2 separate regions of the Homo sapiens genome follow, and region 1 is linked to region 2. Evidence: promoter capture Hi-C in 16 types of primary human blood cells and fetal thymus (Javierre and others, 2016). All regions are on one chromosome and are shown on one strand. The core of a region is centred on a gene start or on the middle of the fragment in contact, and the rest is flanking DNA. Distances in the headings are between cores, read along the strand shown.

Region 1 (5,838 bases), core at 2,289-4,788, 460 kb before region 2:
ATAGTTATTGAGCAGCTATTCTGCTGGGTACTTTCTGAGGTGTTGGGAGTAAATAGGAAAACAATTTTGAGAAAATCTCTTCTTTTATAGAGCTTAACTATAAAGGATGTTTCCAAAATTTCAGTTTGGCTTTTCTAAAGAAATATTGATTTAGATATTTTATTAACGCATTTTTGGTTCTTAAATTCCTTAGGCGTCCTTTCTTTTGAAGTTACCGCACCTTAAAAACCTGGCTTTATGTTTTGTGCTCAATATCCCTTGGCCTTATATATCAAATATTATGGCATGAAATACTTATGGTTTCAAAAAACTTTACTTTTATTTTCATTATTTTGGATTGTTCTAGGCTGGTTTCGTTTTGGTAATCATGTACATTGACAATTTCTGAACAAGCAAAAAAAAATGCTCTCAAAGATAAGCAAGCAACAGTTGCATTCCACTATTGAAGGCTATTACAGTATGAGTTAAATGTACTGAACTTATTTTTCTTACTCCTCTGTGAAACAGTCTTAATTAACTAATGTAGTAAGCAGCTTTCTAACCTTCAAAATGATTTTCTGTGGTAGCAAAATCATTTTGCAAGTCAAATGCAACACTAGTTTATCTTTTGCATTTGAAGGACTGTTTAACTATTAACTGGTTAATTGTGTATCATTCCCATACAGAAGGTAAGTACTCAAATTATTTTCCTCATAAAACCTGACATTCAGCATCTTAAAGGTAGGTATACATTTGGTACTTTCTTATGTTCACTCCTATACCCACTAGATCAAAAATATAAGGTACTGAGTGATTTTAAAACTTAAATGAAAAATTTTAATAAGGAAAAAGTAATAGACAATATCAGTATGATAAAGTGGGATCTACACCAGTTATCAGAGAAACACAAATGTGTACATACTGCATGATCTGCAAAGTGTAGCCACATATAATATTTTGCATAATCATACTTTATAACTACGAATAAACAGATGGATTTATCCATCTGTTTAAAAGCTAAAGCAGATGAAAGTAATTTTAGTAGCACACAAACAGACTAAATCATTTGTTCTCATAACTCTTGTCTAATTTGAAGACAATGGGAAATATTTAAAAGTGATTTCATAGAGCCTGAAACCACTTTGACATTTGAGTTGAGTCACACCGAATGTTGAAATAAATGTCCTATTCCGGTAAATTTAAAGGACTGTTTTAACATGATAATTTGTCTCCTAAAATAATGTCCCAGGACCCACACTAACAAAAGTCAAAATTGAAGGTGAACCTGAATTCAGACTGATTAAAGAAGGTGAAACAATAACTGAAGTGATCCATGGAGGTGCGTTCCTTATGTTACCTGGGGCCGACTACCTTCGCTGTGATTATTTTGAAATAGTGTTGGTTTAGAAATATTGAACATCTGATATTTTCTCTTAGTTCTTATTTTATAAAAATTGTGGGAATTATTTCCTCAGCTATGAGTTCTTATTAGCTGGTCAGAAATAAAACATAGTTAGCTTTTAATGGATCTAGTTGGAATTAATTTATCTATTAAGTCACTGGGCCCAACAAAATGTCATGATTTTTGCATATACAAGTGAGGATTGTGGAATAAAATTGTAACATTAATGTCAGTATAAAAGGAAATATTAGAAACAGTAGGAAAAAATGACCATTGTATAAGTCTCTGTCTAATAAGCCACTCCACTACTAGGATTTATGATAGGGCTCCCATTCCAATGATATAGAACTCCCTGGATTCTCACTAAGTATTTATTCCACATCCAGAAAACAAGTATGACATGGAGAGTTAGGATGTCAAATGGCCCTCTCTCTCAACCAAGATTCAGGACATAGCTATTACCTTTTAGATCCCTATTGATATGATTTTTGGGGGATATGTTCTAAAAATGTTTATGATTGAATCTTAAATGGTAATATTTGTAGAAATATAGTTAATCATTACAATGTCTAGCTTATGGATGTATAGTCACAATATGAGGGTAAATCAAATGCATTTGTATTCCCCTGCTTTTAGAGCCAATTATTAAAAAATACACCAAAATCATTGATGGAGTGCCTGTGGAAATAACTGAAAAAGAGACACGAGAAGAACGAATCATTACAGGTAGCCATTAATTCCATACATGGATCTATGCCTAGATTATAAAGATCAAATTATAGTTAATCCCCAAATATAAGAATCATTAAAGAAACAAGTCATTTTCATAGTGATTACTAAAGTTACTTCATATTTTGGCAGATATAATATTATTCTAAATATGTAATCTATGTTTTACTCTGAATTGAAAATTTGTAGACAAATCTAAAAGCATTTGTTTTTATTACATGTATGCATACATACATGTAATATGATATACCATTGATATGATATTCCATTTTCACTTTACTGTTTGTTAATGAGTTAGAGGACCCTAGAAGAAAAGCCATTTCCTCATTTGAGCTTCCATTAATCTTAAGGTCTGTACATCTACCTGCCAAAATAGAAGCAAGTTTATACAAAGCAATTGATCAATATTTTCAGTAAACCTCATATCAGACTTCCAAACTAGCGTCCAGTTGGTCCAAATTAGCCTAAAATTCGCCGAAAATCCTTAATTCAGCTATTCTTTAAGTATTTGTTTAAACAATTAGTGAGCAAGTGTGGCTTGTGCCACCCATTTATGGAAATAAAGTTTTATCGGAACACAGTCTTTCCCATCCATTTATATAATACCTAAGGCTGCTTTCACACTGAAGTATCAGAGTTGAACAATGGCAACACAGACTACATGGCCCACAAGTGTAAAATACTTACTCTCTGTCACTTCGCAGAAGAAGTTTGCCTACTTCTGTTTTAGACCTTTTTCATTGTCCTTCTCATAGGTCCTGAAATAAAATACACTAGGATTTCTACTGGAGGTGGAGAAACAGAAGAAACTCTGAAGAAATTGTTACAAGAAGGTCAGCATTTCTAGGAAAATAAGAATGTGACTTTACCTAAGCTATCCATATACAAGTCTAAAATAACATTCTACATGTTTTCTACTCTATCTCAATCTATTGTTCATTTCCATACCAACAAGAAAAAAGCACAAGAATAAGGAATTAAGCATAAATGGCAGTCATATTTTTTATACAGTATTTTGTTCAACAACTTTATAAGAATATTAGTATGTCAGAAAACAGCACTAAAATTTGTGAAAGAATCGAGTGTTGGGCTGGAATTCATTATTGGGCAGATGCCATTATTTATGACATAAAGTCTGCTGTCTTTATTTTGTTATATAAACCAATTTCTGCTATAAACATGTATCCTCTCAGAGGTCACCAAGGTCACCAAATTCATTGAAGGTGGTGATGGTCATTTATTTGAAGATGAAGAAATTAAAAGACTGCTTCAGGGAGGTTAGTAAAAGGACAACAACTAACCCCCTTAACAGGTTCTAGTGACTGAGTTCAACTTTTTAAAGACTGAGCAAGCAGATTTTTTCTTTTAATTGGGTTAAAAAAAAAAAAGACAACATCCACTGTTGTCTTAATAGATGGATTGGTTCAATGGTAGTTAATAGTTATGAAGAAATGATTACTAGTTTAAACAGTCTTTAAAAAGTTCTATGGTATAAAGTTTGGGGAGCAATGAATATTTTTTTTGCTTTGATTCAGATAATTTTAAGGGCCTTTTAAGTATGCAAAAGGGAAATAATTGTTAAATTGCTAGCTGTTAAACAAGCCCAAATTTGATATACTTTTTATATTTAAAAAATTATATTCACTGCCCCCATAAGAGCAATCAAGGCATGTCTTTAAATTCTATACATAGATATAGCCAAAAATAGTGCATTTAGTAACATTCTTTTCCAAAACTATATTCTTGGGAATGAATATCTGTTTCTTCTAACAGTTTGAGTGATAATCTATACCTGTAGATATAAGTTATTTTGCATATAAAATTAATCTTAATCTTTTATGGAATGTTCTCTGTCTGTGGCATTAAATGAACCTTAAGAACAAAAAAAAAAGAATTCAAAATCTTACACAAACCCTACATAGTAATTATTCAAAGATGTTGTTTATATAGATACATAATTTGTATCATTGGCATTTGAATAAACAAATTTCTACTTCATTTTTTAACAAGGAAAGAATTAAGCTGAAAAATTATTTTTTGTGAAACATGTATTTATATTCTTTAGAAAAACCAAATAGGCACTTTGAAATATACTATTAATTGAGAAACATAACTGAAGTTTGATGTTTATCCAAAACACAGTCCAGATGGCTTTTCAGCTTATACTTTTTAAAACTGTATCACTATGTCCAAGAAAATGTAAATTATCTTGGGACTTTCTATATTTTTAGCAATTATTATTTCTATATTCTGTAGTTTAATAAACGTAAAATCTCTTAAATAGTATTTAGAAACTTGTCAGTGATAGTTTAAAAATTTTTAATTCAACCAATGATTGAATTTTCCCTCAATAGAAATATATATGTCTGAAAAATACAAGTTTCCTCCCAGAATTCTAAGAGTACATAGCACAACAGAGCCATAACGGAACCAAAGATTCCTGTAGGATCTAACAAAGAATTCACTATCTACCCCTAAATGCTCAACTGTCTGCTAGGAAAAAAATCTAAGGATTTGAGGGAAGAGACAAACACATTATGAAGATTAAATTGAATTCTTTTTTTTTTCTTTCAGTCCTTGCCATAGTAAGCAGCTTTGTAGAATGGTAGTGCTTTTTAGGGAATCAATAAATTAGTAGCTGCATCAGTTTATATTGCTTTAATTCATTTAGGATTAAATTTCAGGTAAGTATATTTTCTTCCCCTTTGATAAGCCCCTGTTATTGAGGCCACTATGAAAAATCCAGTTAAATACTAAAGAATTGCTTCAGCCAAGAAAACATATAACTGCTACAAGTTAAGTATATGACATTCAATTTTTAGTTAATGAACTCCTTTCTTAGCTCTTGCCTCTGATCATCCCAGAAGTTTATTCCTTTAGTTCCCAGTGTATGATCTCTCTACATATCTGTAAGGCATCGGTTTTCACAATGCCACGTCAACTATTATAGCATTGTGAAAAAACAAAAAAAATTAAAAGTTTTTATCAAATCATTTCTCCAAGGTTTTGCTTTTTGTAGGAAAAACACTATATGCGGTAGAATTACTAGTACCAGCATTAATTGGACATGCTTGTTTTCTTTTTTCCAGCTATCTAAAACCATCAGGTCATTACTGAGTCACAAGTATCCCCTTGTCTAGATCCTAAAAGGCATTGATAAAAGAAGCTAGTAAAGATTACACTATGTAAGACTTTTTTTTTTTCCAAGGTCTGGCCAATTAATACATATCTGAACCATGCTCTTCAACTCAATAAGTTCTACCTAAAACTGAATTTTCTATCTAAACAGTTCATATCGTATACATTGTGGTACATGTAGTACATTTTTTTTTTTTTTTTTTGAGACGGAGTCTCGCTCTGTCGCCCAGGCTGGAGTGCAGTGGCGGGATCTCGGCTCACTGCAAGCTCCGCCTCCCGGGTTCACGCCATTCTCCTGCCTCAGCCTCCCAAGTAGCTGGGACTACAGGCGCCCGCCACTACGCCCGGCTAATGTTTTGTATTTTTAGTAGAGACGGGGTTTCACCGTTTTAGCCGGGATGGTCTCGATCTCCTGACCTCGTGATCCGCCCGCCTCGGCCTCCCAAAGTGCTGGGATTACAGGCGTGAGCCACCGCGCCCGGCCATGTAGTACATTTTTTGTACTTTTGGTAATTTGAGTATATTTCTCAATCATTTAAGTCATGACTATTAACATGGCTAACTGGTACTTTGAGTACTGATGTTGTGAT
Region 2 (5,644 bases), core at 1,288-3,787:
CGTTCAGGAGCCTCTGGCTGTTGATGTCTATGTAGGGGTTAAAAGTACTGGCTTTGGAGGCAGGCTATCCTGGATTTCCATTCTGAATCCATCATTACCTACCTATGCCACCTTTGGTGAGTCACTCATGCCTGCAAATAGGAGGCATTCAATAACTATTTGTTGAATGAATGAATAAATAAAGAATGCATCAACCCCACACACTGTCCACAAAACTTTATGAAATACAGTAGTTCAATTTACTTCCATTTTAAAAACTATTTGTTGCACATCTTTTATGGAAAAATTTTGGACAAAAGGGTAGGAGGGGATGCAAGAGTTTAAGCAAAGTGTTGTTTGGGTTTAAAAAGAGTATTTATATTTGGTTGAGGAGATTGGAAAAGGTTTCATGGAGCAAACAGCATTTAAGGAAGAGCCCTGAGATTATTAGGATTAGACCTGGGCGATGGGAAAGATAAAGCAGGCTGGAAGCATTTCAGGCTGAGGAAACAACACCATAAGCCAAGACCCAAAGATGAAAAAATGCAGGGAGTATGTGTTCGGGGAAAAATCCGCAGTCCCACCGGCTTGTGGTAAGAGAATTCATGGGAGACTGGATTGGAAGCTATTCAGGGTCATATCATCACTTCAGTTACTGATCCTCCCCATTCTGGAGATGCTCACAACTTCCCTGTAAGTGAAGGTTCACCCAACCACCATTATAAGTTACACTTGACCTTCTTTATAGACAGTGCCTTTATTTAACTGGTACAAAAAAGTATGGGACTTAGTAAACAATAAATAAACTATAATTAAACTATTCTAGTTCCAGAATTGAAAGGGGATTTTTTGATTCAAGCTTTTGTCCATGTATGGGTTATCTGTAACTTTTTTGAATAGTGACTTCTCTCACATAGAGATTATTTGAATTTCAAGGTTCGTGTTGAAGCCATTGACTGGAAGACTGAACGGGAAGGAAGCATAATGGGCAGTGGGTTAACAACATAAATTTTATTCTTGGTTATTAGAAAGGAAATTGTTCTCCAGGCAAATTTCAACAAAGTTGGATGAGTAAATGAAAGAAATGCCATTCTAGTTGGTACGGTATAAAAAGTAACTACCTTGGGTCAGAATTCAGTTTCAAATTGGCCTCTGACACTTGTCTGTAGTGTGGTCTTGGGCAATTCATCTAACCTCTCTATGCCTTGATTTCCACTTGTATAAAATGAGAAGTACAATCATAATAATAAAATATGCCAGCAGTATACTGTATTACTATCCACCTGAGGTAGGAGTATGTATTTTCACCCCACTGTCTTTGGACCTGGCCATGTGATGTGTTTTGCCCAGTGGAATGTAACATTTGCCACTCCTTTTATTATGAGAACAGCATGCTCCTAAGGAGGCTGCTCTTTCAGCCTGCATTCTAGAACAAAGAGGACACAGGAAGCAGAGATGCAGCTGATCTACAGCTTACATAAAACCTGAATGATAAATAAACTTTGTCATTGTAAGCCACTGAGATTTGCGAGTTGTTCCTGCTGCAAAGCCAAGTAATATACTGCGCTACCCACCTCACATATTTGTCTGAAGTGGACTTTAAAAATGTTTTAAAGCACTTTATAATGTTCTATGCCCGTCTATGTCTCAAACCAGCTCCTTCTCTCGCCATAGATTGATGCAGGTCAGAAAAGTTAACAGCACTAACTTATGTGAGACAGTAAAGTGAGAATACCTGCTTTCAAAGCTGCACCTCTCTCTCCTGCCTTTCTGCCATTGGCCCCCAAATTCGTTGCTACTGCCCCGTTAGGATTATACTCAGTTCCTATCCCATCTCCTCATAAAACAAAATAATCGCACGGGTTTTGTTATTTGTGATGTGAACTTTCATAAAAATATTGAAATGGTACCGCTTTTTCTGCTAGTGCTGGCCCCAGTTCTTCTGAGAAAATGCTCAGAACTGCCGGCTTCTGTTTCTTCTCCATATTTTGGTTAAATTTTACTTGAATCCTTCATTTAGTCAGTTTTGCCAGAACGTCTCTGTGGAATCCTATTTAAATTCAAAGCACTCTATGAAAAAATTTCAAAAGGATCGCTTTAAAAAAAAAAAAAAAGACATTTCAATTTAACTAGCAGTAAGTAACTCTTGTTGACTAAACTCATTAAAGAAGCAACCACTGAGATCACACAGAAAAACCTCAAGAGGTGGCACCCCGACTCGCATTAACCCAGGGAGACATGATGGCTAAGGAAGTAGATGGGACAATGACTGGGCCCGAAAACAAGAAAATCTTTGTTATAAAAGCCTCCCATTTCTGCACGATTAAGTTGAAAGAAGGTGAGCTTCGAGTTAAGCCTAGGCAGTTTTGAATTCCAGCTCGCCCACAATCTCTTGCAACCTTAGGCCGCTTACCTGAGACTCAGCCTTTCTTACCCAACAAATCAGGGAAAATAATAGCTACCTTACAAGACTAGCAAGTTTGTCTTAAATGGAGTGAGATGAGTGGAACACCTAACAGAGGTCTCAGACAATAACAGCTTCTCCAAAAATTCTCGATTTGTGGTTGGCTGAGGTGGAGGAACAAAATGGCGGCGCCGGCGGCGTGACCGGGCCCTCTGGCCCACAGCCGTTGGTAGCGGTGGCAGCAGTACTGCTGCCCCAACTCGCTGTGCCCCCTTTCTCAGCCCACGACATCGCCACGACAGCGAGGCAGCGACCGCCACCGAGAAAGAGGTGGTGGCCCAGCCTGGAACCTTGAGAAACCCTCGCAAACTGTGGCCTGGCGGAAATCCTGGTGTGCTGCAGGGATCAGGCTGACTCCACGCCCTGTAACACCGGGAAACGCCTCGGTGGCCATTTCCAGCAGCCCTCATCCTCAGCCTTGCGGGCCGGTGGGCCCCGGAGGCCTCCATCCTCCCCTAGAGGGGTCAGGGCTGAGCCCAGCCTCCATCTTTGCCTCTCAGGATGACAAACAACAGCGGCTCCAAAGCCGAACTCGTTGTGGGAGGGAAATACAAACTGGTGCGGAAGATCGGGTCTGGCTCCTTTGGAGACGTTTATCTGGGCATCACCACCACCAACGGCGAGGACGTAGCAGTGAAGCTGGAATCTCAGAAGGTCAAGCACCCCCAGTTGCTGTATGAGAGCAAACTCTACACGATTCTTCAAGGTGGGGTTGGCATCCCCCACATGCACTGGTATGGTCAGGAAAAAGACAACAATGTGCTAGTCATGGACCTTCTGGGACCCAGCCTCGAAGACCTCTTTAATTTCTGTTCAAGAAGGTTCACCATGAAAACTGTACTTATGTTAGCCGACCAGATGATCAGCAGAATTGAATACGTGCATACAAAGAATTTTCTACACCGAGACATTAAACCAGATAACTTCCTGATGGGTACTGGGCGTCACTGTAATAAGTTGTTCCTTATTGATTTTGGTTTGGCCAAAAAGTACAGAGACAACAGGACCAGGCAACACATACCGTACAGAGAAGATAAACACCTCATTGGCACTGTCCGATATGCCAGCATCAATGCACATCTTGGTATTGAGCAGAGCCGCCGAGATGACATGGAATCCTTAGGCTACGTTTTCATGTATTTTAATAGAACCAGCCTGCCGTGGCAAGGACTAAGGGCTATGACAAAAAAACAAAAATATGAAAAGATTAGTGAGAAGAAGATGTCCACCCCTGTTGAAGTTTTATGTAAGGGGTTTCCTGCAGAATTCGCCATGTACTTGAACTACTGTCGTGGGCTGCGCTTTGAGGAAGTCCCAGATTACATGTATCTGAGGCAGCTATTCCGCATTCTTTTCAGGACCCTGAACCACCAATATGACTACACATTTGATTGGACGATGTTAAAGCAGAAAGCAGCACAGCAGGCAGCCTCTTCCAGTGGGCAGGGTCAGCAGGCCCAAACCCAGACAGGCAAGCAAACTGAAAAAAACAAGAATAATGTGAAAGATAACTAAGCGTGAATGAGGAACAGAAGAAGCAGAGCAGATGATTCGAGCAGCATTTGTTTCTCCCCACATCTAGAAATTGTAGTTCATATGTACACCAGCTAGTGGCTGTGAACAACCATTTAGTTGGTGTAAAAAACTTTATTTCAATATAAACTGACTCTGGGGAGCGTTGGTGATGCTGTATCCCAAAGTGTAGCCTCTGTAATTGTGAATATTAACTGAGGTAGTGAAACGTGGTGTCTGGTTTTCTATTGCATTTATTCAAGTAGAAAAGTTAACTAAATGGTTGACACACACGAATTGGTGGAGACATTGTCCATATGCCAATTTTTTGTTAAAACCTTTTATTTTGAACTAGACTGCTTTGAGATATCATTTCAGAAGGACAGTATTCAGCCACAGCTGCAAAGGTTGTAAATGCTTATGATTGAGCATTTTTAGGGTTTCTCCATCCCTGGGGTTTGCAAATTGTTCACATAAAGAGCATTCTTAAAATGGTTGGCTTCTTGTCTGTAAGCCAGCTGATCTAGTAGTAACCAAAAATTCCAGTTTTGAGAATAGGAAAGATTCCGCCTGCTTACCTGTGAAGACATAAGAAAATCTTAGTAACTACCAGATTATCTTTAGAATTCCACATTAACTATATCATGTTCTCGGTATTTTAAAAACAACAACAACCATATTTGTCACAGAAATTTAGTTAACATCTTACAACTGAACATGTATGTACATGGCTTAGATAAATGTAATCACCGTAAACACCCATATGATCTGGGATTTTGTTCATATTTTGAAATGGGAGCTTTTATGTTTTACAAGTTCACTAAAATCTGAAAACTGTTTCTATAAGGAAATAATACTTTTTTAAACAACAACCAAAAAATGCCTTGCTGATTCACTAGGAAATAAAAATCTCCCCAATTTTTTGATAGTCAACTTCGAGCCATTTGTTACATGATATTCCCTTGCAAGTAAATTTTATTTCATTATATAACTTTTTTCAATGTTTTTATTCTAAAATAATCGTTTTGTATGAAGGGGAAATGTATTCTTTCATTTTTCTTTTTCTAATGACTTGTGGTAAAATATCTAGTACTGCACCTGCCAAAACTTGGTATTGTTACTTCTTCCACTGACTAATAGCTGGGCTGATTTCAAATAAGAATGCAAGCATTGAAGGGTTTGACTACAAAACATTGTTGTTTAAAATACTTGTGAAATGGCTATAAGCAGTTGACTTTTACCCTTGGAGAGCACACTGTGAGGTTCTGTGATCATTGACCCTCCCTAACCCCCGTCTGCTTCTCTGAATTATCTGTGTGTGCGTGCTCTTCCTCTCAATCTTTTTGCACGTTCTTTTCTTTTTCTCTGATGCAAGATAAAGGAAAACTCATTTTCCTTTTAATTCTTTAAATCGTGTAATTTATTCACTTATAGCATGTCAGGATAAATTAAAAGAACATTTGTCTGAAAATGCTGCCAGGAGCCTATTGTGTAAATGTAGGCATTTTGTAAAATAACCTTGAAATTGTAAATTGCCACGTTTGGTCAGATTGTGTCAGGTTTCATTTATTTTTTTCTCTTTTTCATTTGAAAACTACTTCAGCAATAATTAATTCCATGATTACCACATTCTGCCATTAAGGGATATATTAGTACTATAATGCTGAAGAAATCTTAACAAATCCAAAT

Evidence for each region. Contacts are between HindIII fragments. The CHiCAGO score rates a contact against its expected background, and 5 or more counts as called.
Region 1: a contact is called between a fragment that was not itself captured here and the fragment with the promoter of CSNK1A1L in region 2, in 1 of 17 cell types (endothelial precursors). The highest score is 7.4, in endothelial precursors.

The regions. Positions count from the first base shown.
Region 1 is chr13:37,566,849-37,572,686 of GRCh38, reverse strand. It overlaps POSTN (periostin), which reads left to right. Exons shown (of 23, transcript NM_006475.3): 18 at 1,229-1,318; 19 at 2,018-2,107; 20 at 2,866-2,943; 21 at 3,304-3,387. Among named protein-coding and RNA genes, the nearest start is that of POSTN, 29 kb to the left of the region's middle. The HindIII fragment of the contact is 7,922 bases long and covers 1-5,838 here.
Region 2 is chr13:37,102,557-37,108,200 of GRCh38, reverse strand. CSNK1A1L (casein kinase 1 alpha 1 like) reads left to right here and starts at 2,537. Exons shown (of 1, transcript NM_145203.6): 1 at 2,537-4,942. The coding sequence starts at 2,945. The coding sequence ends at 3,958. The HindIII fragment of the contact is 4,821 bases long and covers 841-5,644 here.